4 separate regions of the Homo sapiens genome follow, and all the other regions are linked to region 2. The links are contacts of gene promoters, found by promoter capture Hi-C in human tissues and cell types (Jung and others, 2019). All regions are on one chromosome and are shown on one strand. The core of a region is centred on a gene start or on the middle of the fragment in contact, and the rest is flanking DNA. Distances in the headings are between cores, read along the strand shown.

Evidence for each region. Contacts are between HindIII fragments. The study calls those that stand out against the background at their distance.
Region 1: a contact is called between a fragment that was not itself captured here and the fragment with the promoter of ITGA2B in region 2, in 1 of the 25 tissues and cell types used here (psoas muscle).
Region 3: a fragment that was not itself captured here is called in contact with the fragment with the promoter of ITGA2B in region 2 in 1 of the 25 tissues and cell types used here (IMR-90 fibroblasts).
Region 4: a fragment that was not itself captured here is called in contact with the fragment with the promoter of ITGA2B in region 2 in 2 of the 25 tissues and cell types used here (lymphoblastoid cells and thymus).

The regions. Positions count from the first base shown.
Region 1 is chr17:44,588,853-44,592,181 of GRCh38, reverse strand. No RefSeq gene overlaps it. Among named protein-coding and RNA genes, the nearest start is that of FZD2, 33 kb to the right of the region's middle. The HindIII fragment of the contact is 5,617 bases long and covers 1-3,329 here.
Region 2 is chr17:44,387,421-44,391,011 of GRCh38, reverse strand. It overlaps ITGA2B (integrin subunit alpha 2b), which reads left to right and starts at 1,363. Exons shown (of 30, transcript NM_000419.5): 1 at 1,363-1,726. The coding sequence starts at 1,539. RefSeq lists an enhancer at 1,147-1,206. The HindIII fragment of the contact is 17,139 bases long and covers 103-3,591 here.
Region 3 is chr17:44,567,540-44,570,983 of GRCh38, reverse strand. No RefSeq gene overlaps it. Among named protein-coding and RNA genes, the nearest start is that of FZD2, 12 kb to the right of the region's middle. The HindIII fragment of the contact is 4,266 bases long and covers 1-3,444 here.
Region 4 is chr17:44,549,418-44,552,652 of GRCh38, reverse strand. No RefSeq gene overlaps it. Among named protein-coding and RNA genes, the nearest start is that of FZD2, 6.4 kb to the left of the region's middle. The HindIII fragment of the contact is 6,889 bases long and covers 1-3,235 here.

The DNA.
Region 1 (3,329 bases), core at 633-3,132, 200 kb before region 2:
GGCTGAGGTAGGAGAATTGTTTGAGCCTGGGAGGTGGAGGCTGCAGTGAGTCAAGATCATATCATTGTACTCCAGCCTGGGTAACAGAGCCAGACCCTGTCTCAAAAAAAAAAAAAAAAAAGTATTCAATACACATTTGTTGGATGAACAAATGAACTATCACCATGAAGGGTTAAAGTCCTTACTCATCTATCATAAGCCTCAGTTTCCTCTGCAAAAAGGTAATAACAAGCTTATAAGTGATTTTACACACACACACACAGATACAAAAACACATGTAAAGTACCCAGCTGGAGTCTGATGTGCTGCAGGTACACCATGGCTAGCTGTGGTTGTTGTTATGAGAAGACTACTTCCTAACTGGTCTGCATGTCATTTATAGCAAAATTCGCATTAGTGAATGTGCACGTAGGCCTTTAGAAGAAAGGGGCTTGATTCTTCTTCCAGGGTAGAGATTCAGGCAGGAAGGCAATAGGAGCCCCTCCCCTGCCCAACCTTCAGGGGTAGAGGCAGCTAAACCGTTGTGGAAGCGCGTGTTGCCTTTTTCCATCAGAGAGATGGGGGGAAACTGGGGCCTTGTCTGTACCTCCTAAAAGAGCCCCTCTGCCCTGCAGGTCCCCTTCACCCTTGGCTGTCTGCTCTCAAGGCACTCTGGCTGCTTTCTACCCCTCATGTTATCTCCCCGAAGGCCATCTGCCTTCCTTCCTTTTTAAAAAAAAATCTTAATTATTGTATTACATTTAATCACCAAGTCGTGAGTAATAAGATCCTGAAAGGACTGGTGGGGACTCTCCAAGCCAGACTGAATCTCACAAAGGAAAAAAAATTAAACAAAACAAGGGAGCCACTCACAGAGCCCCAGACACACACTTACATACTTTCTCACACATACACATACACGCGGAGTCTTAAACACTAAAGATGTACAAGGAGCACAGGTACCAAACACACATGCACACACTAGACACAATACACAAACACACATGAACACACTAGACACAATACACACAAACACATGCACACAGTAGACACGATACACACAAACACACATGCACACACTAGACACAATACACAAACACACATGAACACACTAGACACAATACAAACACACATGAACACTAGACACAATACACACACTAGACACAATACAAACACATGTGAACACACTAGACACAATACACACAAACACATGCACACACTAGACACAATACACACAAACACACATGCACACACTAGACACAATACACAAACACATGCACACACTAGACACAATACATACAAACACACATGAACACACTAGACACAATACACACACATGCACACTAGACACAATACACACACATGCACACACTAGACAATACACAAACACACATGAACACACTAGACACAATACACACACACTAGACAATACAAACACGTGAACACACTAGACACAATACACACAAACACATGCACACACTAGACACAATACACAAACACACATGAACACACTAGACACAATACACACAAACACACATGCACACTAGACACAATACAAACACACATGAACACACTAGACACAATACAAACACACATGCACACACTAGACACCATACAAACACACATGCACACACTAGACATAATACATACAAACACACATGCACACACTAGACATAATACAAACACACATGCACACACTAGACATAATACATACACACATGCACACACTAGACACGGTATACACAAACACACATGCACACACTAGACAATACACAAACACACATGAACACACTAGACACAGTACACACACACATGCACACACTAGACAATACACAAACACACATGAACACACTAGACACAACATATACAAACACATGCACACACTAGACACAATACACAAACACACATGAACACACTAGACACAATACATACAAACACACATGCACACACTAGACACAATACACACACATGCACACACTAGACACAATACACAAACACACATGAACACACTAGACACAATACATACAAACGCACATGCACACACTAGACACAATACACACATGAACACACTAGATACAATACACACAAACACACATGCACACACTAGACACAATACACTATTTCCAATACAAGTATCTGCACACACACACAGATACACATATAGCTAATAAAAAACCCCAACCAAGCAGTGTGCACTCACACACACGAACTTACAGGAGGCCTGACGACTGTATTTCAAACTTCACCTCCCAACCCAAGTCCAAAATCTGTCTCCAATTATCTGGCCCGTGTTGAGAGCAACAGGAAATCCAGAGCTGCCTCTGTCTTCTGCGGGAGATGGCGGGATTTCAGTCATCTCTCCATCGTAGAAAAACAAAAGCCTTCTGGCCTTGCCTCCCTCTCCCTGCCTCTAAGTCAGCTGGGGCTAGGAGGGTGTGGGTGGGAGGGGTAGGCAGGATAGGGGAAGAGAGGTGTCAAACCAAGCCTAGGAACAGCATGAGGAGCCTGGGAAGCCTGAGTCCTGAGCATGAGTCTTTCCGCCTTCCCTCAGAACACTGAACAGGGCACTTGTGTGGGTCAAGGATGGGGCAGACAGTGGGGACTTGGAGACTCAGTAATGACTCTAGACACCAGCCTCATAAGTGACCAAGCAGCATAGCAGAATAACCACTAGACTTACGTTCAGAAGACCTGGGCTTGGCCCCAAATCAGTGAGCCAGCTGCCAGTGATTTCATTTCTTAGAACCTCACTTAGAAAATGGGGGTGATCATAGCCACCCGCCCTACAGGGTGGTTGTGAGTGGTAAGTGACTTGTGCTTGTGTAGCTGGGAAAAATGACCACACCAACGTCATTATTAGCTATGAGATGGTGTCCCAGCCTGTGTGCAAGTGGCCGCTCTCCCCTCAAAGGAGGTAGTTCTCATTGCTTCTCCAGATGCCCTTGGCTAATCCCAAAGAAGAGAAAATACTGCTTCAAGAAACCTGGGTGAGTGGCCAGGTGCAGGGGCTCATGCCTGTAATCCCAGCACCTTGAGAGGCTAAGGCAGAAGAATTGCTTGAGACCAGCAGTTCAAGGCCAGCCTGGACAACATAACAAGACCCTGTCTCTACACTTTTTTTTTTTTAAATAAAGGATCCTGGGACTTCCGTTATTCAGAATGGTTCAAAACTTGCTTCTGGACAGTCATGCCACAATGCTGATTATTCTCTGTAGCACCGGCATTTTGAAGGATTTGCAATTGTGACCATATTGCTCTGTCAGTCTTCCATTGCTTTAGTCTAAGTTCCTCCACCAGACTGGGGGTTCCCAGAGACCAAACTGTCTCCCCCGCACATTACAGTCAGGTCC
Region 2 (3,591 bases), core at 114-2,613:
TCACTCACCTGAGGACAGTGGGAGGATAGAAGGTAAGTAGAGGACTGGGTTAAGTATTCGTTCAAGCAAATACATTAATTACACGCCTCCCATGTACTTGACACTGGGAACTCAGCAATGAAGAAGGCCCAGACCAAAGTTCAGGCTTTTAGCTTCCTGTCCTATAAAGGATAAGATTCTTAACTCTAGGCTGAGGTAGTAAATTACGAGGGGACTTCAAAATGGTACAGGGTGGTTGAGCAGGATACGGCAATGGTTAAGTTTGATCAGAAAATAGAAATCAAAAGGAAAATGTGGCTATGGTTACCCCTAGCGGACCTCTTAAATCTTCCTGAGAACCTGCTTTTTTGGGAAGGCATGAGTGCCAGTAAGACTTGGCACTCCTCCTCTTCCGCTTACCGAGAGAAAATGACTTTGCCTTTCTGCTCAAAACTCATCCCTTCACTTTGTCACCCTATGTTTGCATCTTCCATCCTTAGTGTGTGTTTCCATCCAGTCTTTCAGCAATACACGTACTACACATTGGACTCTTGGGTAGTCTCTAGGGCTGTAGCAAGGAGCCTTGCTCCCAAGGGACTCATTTACACAATCCTGTGAACGGACCAAGAGTAAACAGTGTGCTCAATGCTGTGCCTACGTGTGTTAGCCCACGCGGCCAGCCTGAGGAGTCAGGGAAGGCTCCCCTAGGCAAAGCCCCCAACCAGAATCAAGTCTTAATGGTTAAAGAGCTCCATCACCCAAAAAGGATTGAGGGCCTACCTTCAACTGAACAGCTAATGCATAATCTCAGAAACTGTGAGTCAAAATTCCCTGGAATAACTCCACTTTATCCCCAATCTCCTTGCCACCTAGACCAAGGTCCATTCACCACCCTGTCCCCAGCACTGACTGCACTGCTGTGGCCACACTAAAGCTTGGCTCAAGACGGAGGAGGAGTGAGGAAGCTGCTGCACCAATATGGCTGGTTGAGGCCGCCCAAGGTCCTAGAAGGAGGAAGTGGGTAAATGCCATATCCAAAAAGATACAGAAGCCTCAGGTTTTATCGGGGGCAGCAGCTTCCTTCTCCTTCCCCGACCTGTGGCCAAGTCACAAAGCACCACAGCTGTACAGCCAGATGGGGGAAGGGAGGAGATTAGAACTGTAGGCTAGAGTAGACAAGTATGGACCAGTTCACAATCACGCTATCCCAAGCAGAAAGTGATGGTGGCTTGGACTAGCACGGTGGTAGTAGAGATGGGGTAAAGATTCAAGAGACATCATTGATAGGCAGAACCAATAGGACATGGTAATAAACTATTCTCAGGAAAGGGGAGGAGTCATGGCTTTCAGCCATGAGCATCCACCCTCTGGGTGGCCTCACCCACTTCCTGGCAATTCTAGCCACCATGAGTCCAGGGGCTATAGCCCTTTGCTCTGCCCGTTGCTCAGCAAGTTACTTGGGGTTCCAGTTTGATAAGAAAAGACTTCCTGTGGAGGAATCTGAAGGGAAGGAGGAGGAGCTGGCCCATTCCTGCCTGGGAGGTTGTGGAAGAAGGAAGATGGCCAGAGCTTTGTGTCCACTGCAAGCCCTCTGGCTTCTGGAGTGGGTGCTGCTGCTCTTGGGACCTTGTGCTGCCCCTCCAGCCTGGGCCTTGAACCTGGACCCAGTGCAGCTCACCTTCTATGCAGGCCCCAATGGCAGCCAGTTTGGATTTTCACTGGACTTCCACAAGGACAGCCATGGGAGGTGAGCCGTAAGGGAAGTTGGGGTATTGGGAGAGAGCAGGACCCCTCCCCATCACTGCTTCTGGGGGCTTCGAGTTTCCCATTTGCGATAGCAGTTGAGCAAGGTGACTTGTGGGGCCTATTCAGGTTGATTTCTTGTCAAGAATGTTGGGGTCCAGGGGACTGGCTCAGGTGAAGGTATAAGGGCAGGGCACATGTGGGCTGATGGGCACTGAAAACTACAGCAAGAACAAAGGGAAGACAAGAGTTGATGCTTTATTTTTTCCCCAAGGGTCAGTTGTATGAACCACTCCACCCTCAACACCTTGAAATGCAGAGAGGAGGCCGGGCGCGGTGGCTCATGCCTGTAATCCCAGCACTTTGGGAGGCCGAGGCGGGCAGATCACCTGAGGTCGAGAATTCGAGACCAGCCTGACCAACATGGAGAAACCCCGTCTCTACTAAAAATACAAAAAAAAAAAAAAAAAAGAGACCAGGCACAGTGGCTCACACCTGCAATCCCAGCACTTTGGGAGGCAGAGGTGGGCAGATCATGAGGTCAGGAGTTCAAGACCAGCCTGGCCAATATGGTGAAACCCTGTCTCTATTAAAAATACAAAAATTAGCTGAGCGTGGTGGCACACTCCTGTAGTCCCAGCTACTCGGGAGGCTGAGGTAGGAGAATCACTTGAACCCGGGAGGTGGAGGTTGCAGTGAGCTGAGATCATGCCACTGCACTCCAGCCTGGGTGACAGAGTGACACTCCGTCTCAAAAAAAAAAAAATTAGCCGGGCGTGGTGCCGCATGCTTGTAATCCCAGCTACTCGGGAGGCTGAGGCAGGAGAATCGTTTGAACCTGAGAGGCAGAGGTTGTGGTGAGCCGAGATCATGCCATTGCACTCCAGCCTGGGCAACGAGAGCGAAACTCTGTCTCAAAAAAAAAAAAAAAAAAAAAAGAAAGGAAATGTGGAGAGGAGCACATGTCCTAAATTGATTTGCAGAACTAAAGTTGTCTACCCTCCCGCACCTTGCATTTCTGTTCCATTTCCCTCATCTCCATCAACATTATAAATATTTGAAAAGAAGCAATAGGTCATTAATGATTAGTATTGATCAGGCTTCAGAATCAAGAGTGCCAAGATTAGAGTCTTGGCTCCTCCTCTTCATAGCGTGTACCCTGAGCTACTATTGTGAGAGACACTGTGCCCACCAGCTTCAGGGAGTGGCAATGGGTGGCAATGGCAGATAGCCTTCAAGTGTCAGCCACTTAGGGGATTTCCTCTGCTGAAGAGAGCCAGTTCACTCCAAGTCCCCTCCCAAGATGGCCCACATCCAGTGTCTGATCAATGAGAAGTGGGTGAGTGGGGAGAGTGGAGGCAGGTGTGGGGGAGGCATTTGATAAGGGTCCAGCCCTCTTTCATCAACTCTGACAATTCTTTTTTTCTTCTTCTTCTTTTTTTTTTTTTTTTTTTTTTTTTTTTGAGATGGGGTTTCGCTCTTGTTGCCCAGGCTGGAGTGCAATGGCACAATCACTGGCTCACCGCAACTTCTGCCTCCCGGGTTCAAGCGATTCTCCTGCCACAGCCTCCCGCGTAGCTGGGATTACAGGCATGTGCCACCACACCCGGCTAATTTTGTATTTTTAGTAGAGACGAGGTTTCTCCATGTTGGTCAGGGTGGTCTCGAACTCCCAACTTCAGGTGATCCACCCGCCTTGGCCTCCCAAAGTGCTGGGATTACAGGCTTCAGCCACCATGCCCAGACTTTTTTTCTTCTTTTTTTTTGAGATGGAGTTTCGCTCTCGTTGCCCAGGCTGGAGTGCAATGGGGTGATCTCGGCTCACTGCAACCTCTGCCTCCTGGGTTCAAACGATTCTCCTGTCTCAGC
Region 3 (3,444 bases), core at 549-3,048, 180 kb before region 2:
AAGAAATCAAATAACCCAATTAAAAAATGGACCAGGCCGGGCGCAGTGGCTCACGCCTGTAAGCACTTTGGGAGGCCAAGGCGGGCGGATCCTGAGGTCAGAAGATTGAGACCATCCTGGCTAACACGGCGAAACCCCATCTCTACTAAAAATACAAAAAAAAAATAACCAGGCGTGGTGGCGGCAGGTGCCTCAAAAAAAAAAAAAAAAAAAGGACCAAAGACCCTAACACACATCTCACCAAAGACATACAGATGGAAGGTAAGCATATGAAAAGACCTCTATATCCTATGTCATCGGGAAAATGCAAATTCAAACAATGAAATACTACTACGTATCTATTGGAATGGCCCAAATCTGGAATACTGACAATACCAAATGCCGTGGAGGATGTGGAATAACAGAAACCCTCATTCACTGCTGGTGGGAATGTAACACGGTACAACCACTTTGGAAGATAGTTTGGCAGTTTCTTACACCACTAAACATACTTTTACCATACAATCCAGCAATCAAGCACCTTGGTATTTACCCACGTGTTAAAAATTTACGTCTAGGTGGCCGGGCACGGTGGCTCACGCCTGTAATCCCAGCACTTTGGGAGGCGAGATGGGCGGATCACCTGAGGTCAGGAGTTCAAGACCAGCCTGTCCAACATGGTAAAATGCCGTCTCTACTAAAAATACAAAAATTAGCTGGGTGTGGTGGCAGGCACCTGTAATCCCAGCTACCCAGGAGGCTGAGGCAGGACAATCGCTTGAACCCGAGAGGCGGAAGTTGCAGTGAACCTAGATCATGCCACTGCACTCCAGCCTGGGGAAAGAGAGCGAGACTTTGTCTCAAAAAAAAAAAAAATTATGTCTACATAAAAACCTGTACATGGATGTTTACAGCAGCTTTATAATTACCAAAGCTTAGAAGCAACGAAGATGCCCTTCGATAGGTGAATAAACTTACCAGACAGTTCTCCGGGTGGCCTTGGGCCACCCAGTTCTCCGCTTTCTCACTTATAGTATTCAAGAATAACCGTAGATTGTTCTGGGAATGCAGCATCCTGGGATAACGAGGGACTGGACAGCACAGCCTGAGCTCTATTCCAGGCCCTCCTAGAAATAGAATATCCTTTAAAAAAAAAGAAAACAAGAAAGAAATAGGACGTCCTTCAACATTTTAGCCCACCAAGTCCTGTTGTCCCTAGGATACAAAACCCAGGGCAGTTTGCTAGTGAGGTAAGCAAGACATACACACTGACAAGACTCCATTCACCCCAGGCAGCTTTTGTGAGCCTCGGGGGACTGGCTGAGTCCTAGGCTACGCTGTCCCTTGCTGCCTATCTGTAAGTAATACATCTGGTGCGTGTAGCTTATTTGATTGGGGGGGTTTTTCTGTTCCACCCAACTCAAGCAAGTTGGTAGCCAGGGCATAATTAATCTGCTTTGAAAAACTGTGGAATAGCCAGACATTATTCAGTGCTAAAAGGAAACGTGCTATCAAACCACGAAAATGTGTCCAGAATTGGTGGGTTCTTGGTCTCACTGACTTCAAGAATGAAGCCGCAGACCCTCGCGGTAAGTGTTACAGTTCTTAAAGGCGGCGTGTCCAGAGTTTATTCTTTCTGACGTTCGGATGTGTTCAGAGTTTCTTCCTCCTGGTGGGTTCGTGGTCTCACTAGCTCAGGAGTAAAGCTGCAGACTTTCGCAGTGAGTGTTACAGCTCTTAAGTCGACGCATCTGGAGTTGTTCGTTCCTCCCGGTGGGTTCGTGGTCTCGCTGGCTTCAGGAGCAAAGCTGCAGACCTTCCCGGTGAGTGTTACAACTCATAAAAGTAGTGTAGATCCAAAGAACAAACAGCAACAAAATTTATTCCAAAAAGTGAAAGAATAAAGCTTCCTCTCTCCACCCCCCAACCCCCCCCCCCCCCCCCCCCCCGGAGAAATAGGACCCGAGTACATTGCCACTGCTGAGTCGGGGCAGTCTGCTTGCACTGCTGAGTCGGGGCAGTCTGCTTTTATTCTCCTATCTGGCCCCACCCACATCCTGCTGATTGGTCCATTTTACAGAGCGCCGATTGGTCTGTTTTACAGAGAGCTGATTGGTCCATTTTGACAGGGTGCTGATTGGTGCGTTTACAATCCCTGAGCTAGACACAAAAGTTCTCCACGTCCCCACTAGATTAGCTAGACACAGAGTGTCCATTGCTGCATTCACAAACCCTGAGCTAGACACAGCGTGCTGATTGGTGTGTTTACAAACCTTGAGCTAGATACAGAGTGCTGATTGGTGTATCCACAATCCCCCAGCTAGACATAAAAGCTCCCCAAGTCCCCACTAGACTCAGGAGCCCAGCTGGCTTCACCCAGTGGATCCCGCATCGGGGCCACAGGTGGAGCTGCCTGCGGGTCCCGCGCTGTGAACCCACACTCCTCAGCCCTTGGGTGATCGATGGGACTGGGCGCCCTAGAGCAGGGGGCAGCGCTCTCCGGGAGGCTCGGGCCGTGCAGGAGCCCACGGCGTGGGGGAGAGGAAGGGGTGGAGGCTCAGGCATAGTGGGCTGCAGGTCCCGAGCCCTGCCCAGCAGGGAGGCAGCTAAGGCCTGGCGAGAAATCCAGCACAGCAGCTACTGGCCCAGGTGCTAAGCCCCTCACTGCCCGGGGCTTGCGGGCTGGCTGGCCGCTACGAGTGCGGGGCCCGCCGAGCCCACGCCCACCCAGAACTCGCGCTGGCCCCCAAGCGCCCCGTGCAGCCCCAGTTCCTGCCCGCGCCTCTCCCTCCACACCTCCCCGCAAGCTGAGGGAGCCAGCTCCAGCCTTGGGCAGCCCAGGAAGGGGCTCCCACAGTGCAGTGGTGGGCTGAAGGGCTCCTCACGTGCCGCCAAAGTGGGAGCCCAGGCAGAGGAGGCGCCGAGAGTGAGCGAGGGCTGCCAGCAGGCTGTCACCTCTCAAAAACACGTGGAGGAACCTGAAATGCATATTACTAAGTCAAAGAAGCCAATCTGAAAAGGCTACATATAGTATGATTCCAACTCTATGATATTCTAGAAAAGGCAAAACTGTGGAGACAGTAAAAAGATCAGTGGTTGCTAGGGGTTGGTGGGGCTGGGAGGGTTGAATAGGTAGAGCATAGAGGATATTTAGGTCAGCGAAAATAGTCTGTGTGATACTTTAATGTTGTATATATGTCATTATACATTATAGAAAGTACAACACAAGTCCAGGCACGGTGGCTCACACCTGTAATCCTAGCACTCTGGGAGGCCAAGGCAGGCGGATCACTCGAGCTCAGGAGTTCAAAACCAGCCTGGGCAATATGGCAAAACCCTGTCTCTACTAAAAAAACCAAACCAAAACAAAACAAAAAAACCACACACACACACACAAAAATTAGTCAGCTGTGGTGGCACACACCTGTAGTCCTAGCCACTTGGGGGGCTGAGGTGGGAGGATCC
Region 4 (3,235 bases), core at 728-3,227, 160 kb before region 2:
GTGTGAGGTGTTGGATGTAGAAACATGAACTCACAATCTAACAGGGAAACAGACATGTAAACAGACAAGGGAGGGACAGGCATTCCAGACAGAGGGAACATTGTGTGCAAGGGCGTGGTGGGGTGAAATAGATGGAGTAGGGAGGCAGCGCAAGACTTTGGCCCTGTGAGAGTCCCACGTGCATCTAGGAGAACGACGGCAGAGGAGGCTTTAAGTAGTCAGAGATCTTGGATACCTTGCACACGGTCTGGGCTCCTGGAGATGAGGATATACTGGAGAATTTTGGGAAAGGAAGAGGTCACATTTGCATTTTAACTAGTGCATTTGGGCAGTTTTGAGGAGCATCATGCCGGGAGCCTGAGATACCAGTTACAGATTGATCACAAGAGACCAGGCAAGAAATGGTGACGGCAGGAACTGAGATGTGACAGTGCAGATGGTAAGGAGAGAGAGTAAGGGACGAGATCAACCAAGGCTCTGACCTAGGTGCCCTAATGCTATTAACCAGGCTGGGAAATGCAGGGAAAGGGCAGATAATGAGTGCAGTCATGCAAGCCTGGTCCTATGGCACATCCAAGAGAAGGTGTCCAGAAGGCAGGCGAATAATCTAACTCAGTGCTCAGGTCAGAACTCTGGGCTAGATTTAGATCTGGCACCTTCAGCCTATGTCTGATGGTATGAGCATGGCTAAGATCACCTAGGGAAGATGGATAGGGTGGGAAGGCCAAAGCTTTGGGGATGTCAACATTTAAAGGCCCTGGGGCCAATAAGGAAGGAGACTGAGAAGAGGTGTTTGGGCCAGCAGAGATTCTAGCCAACATGAGGATGTCACAAGGTTTGTTTCTTCTGGGTCTGAGAGCTTCAAGTCAGGTTTTTGTTTTCTTTCTTTGTTTTTGTTTTTGAGACAGGGTCTTGCTCCATTGCCCAGGCTGGAGTGCAGTGGCTCGATCTCACTCATTGCAACCTCTGCCTCCCTGGTTCAAGGGATTCTCCTTCCTTGAGTAGTTGGGATTACAGGTGTCCACCACCATGCCCAGCTAATTTTTTTTTTTTTTTGAGATGGAGTCTCGCTCTGTCCCCCAGGCTGGAGTGCAGTGGCTCCATCTCAGCTCACTGCAAGCTCCGCCTCCTGGATTCACGCCATTCTCCTGCCTCAGCCTCCTGAATAGCTGGGACTACAGGTGCCCACCACCATGCCCGGCTAATTTTTTTGTATTTTTAGTAGAAATGGGGTTTCACCATGTTAGCCAGGATGGTCTCGATCTCCTGACCTCGTGATCCGCCCGCCTCAGCCTCCCAAAGTGCTAGGATTACAGGCGTAAGCCACCATGCCCGGCTAATTTTTGTATTTTCAGTAGAGACAGGGTTTCACCATGTTGGCCAGGTTGGTCTTGAACTCCTGACCTCAAGTGATCTGCCCACCTCAGCCTCCCAAAGTGCTGGGATAACAGGTGTGAGCCACCGCACCTGGCCCAGAATTTTTATTTTTCTTATTTCAGTTGTGAGAATTAAATGAGACAGCATATGACACTCACTATGACCTGGTGCTAGACTAAAAGCTTGGTAATAGTAGCTATTATTTTATCCAATAAATTATTGAGCATCTACTACATGCAAAGCAGATAGTCTGCAGAGACTCAGCCTCCAGCTTCAGGGAGCCTACAGTCTAGGGGGCCACATTCTGCTATCGCTCCCTAAGGAACATTTCTCTTTAGTCTTGGGCTTCTGCTGTGGGCTGGGAGCCTAGGTGTCCCCAGTGCACAGAAGTGCCACTTCTCCCCCAAACCCCGAAGTACCACTGTTAATCGTGTCTGCTTACAAATCTGACATCTAGGACCAGGTGGAGTGGTTCACACCTGTAATCCTAGCACTTTAGGAGGCTAAGGTGGGAGAATTGCTTGAGCCAGCCTAGGCAAGATAGCCAGGCCCTATCTCTACAGAAAATTTTAAAATTAGTCTGGTGTGGTAGCATGCACCTGTAGTCGCAGCTACTCAGGAGGCTGAAGCGGGTGGATCACTTGAGCCCAGAAGTTTGAGGCTGCATAAGCTGTGATCACCCCACCGCACTCCAGCCTGGACAACAGAGTGAGAACCCATCTCAAAAAACAAACAAACAAAAAAAAAACCAAATCTGATATCTGGGATAATTGTTGGGTACCTACTGTAAATCTGCTGCAGGGTCCATTCCCCCGTTCTGTAGGATGGGCTTGGCAGGAGCAGAAATCTCAACCTAACAGGAGAGCAGAGAAAATAGCTGTTGGAGTGGAAAGAAACCTGGTCTGGGGCTCCAAATGTCTGGGCTGCAGGCCTGGCTCCAGCCCCACTGGCCCAGTAGCTTAGGCAAGTCACCATCCCTTCCTTAGCTGCAGCTTTTTCATCAGTAGAAAGGGATCATAAAACAATTTATTGATTTTACCCTTGAGCCAGATGTAGGAGGCTGTGAGAATATGATGCTTGGATCATTGAAACTCTCCTTGCTTCATGCCACCCAAACAAGATGAAAGACTTGTGTGTCACAGATAAGTGAAATGACAGTCAGCAACATCCAACACACACAGGCATGCTCAGGAGAGGAGAGCACGGAGAACTTCTCCCCGCTAAGGAAACCTGGGGAGATTGCCTAGGGCTCCCACTCCCCGCAAAATATCCTCCTGTCTCTGGCCTTTCACCTTCCCCCGTCACAGTTTAGGTAATCACACATGTCCAGGTCTCCTTGCACGTTTTCCTCTAGAGCCCTTGCTTTCCAGAGAAGCTGTCCCCTCTGTCCTTGAGGGCTAATCTAAGGGACAATGCCTGGTATGGTGACTCCCGAGGGAATTCCCCCTGCTCCAATGAGCCTGCCAGAGGACAGGTCCCCTCTTTGTTTCCTCAATTCTGGGTCAGTGTTCTTTCCTTTTCAAAGCACTGAGGTCCCTCCACCCTAAAGAGGGAAGGGCTATGTGTATCTGTTTAGGAGACAGAGATCAAGGAGGAGGACTTAATTTCAGATACTTTAGGAGCCTCAATGGTTTTATTCTCTAAGCAAAAATGTTCTGCTCTAAACGGGGTGGGTCCTAGATACTTTGTGGAAAACAGGTCTGAGCATTCAGAGAATCAGTCTCCTTGGCTCCCCTCTCCCCTGACCCACACAATATGCCTCTGCTTTAGGTGAATTCACCTTTCCTCCTCTCTCCCTGAACCTGTCCATCAAGACCTTGAATCCACCTTCAGGTGAGGTATCAAATTCCTTCTCCCT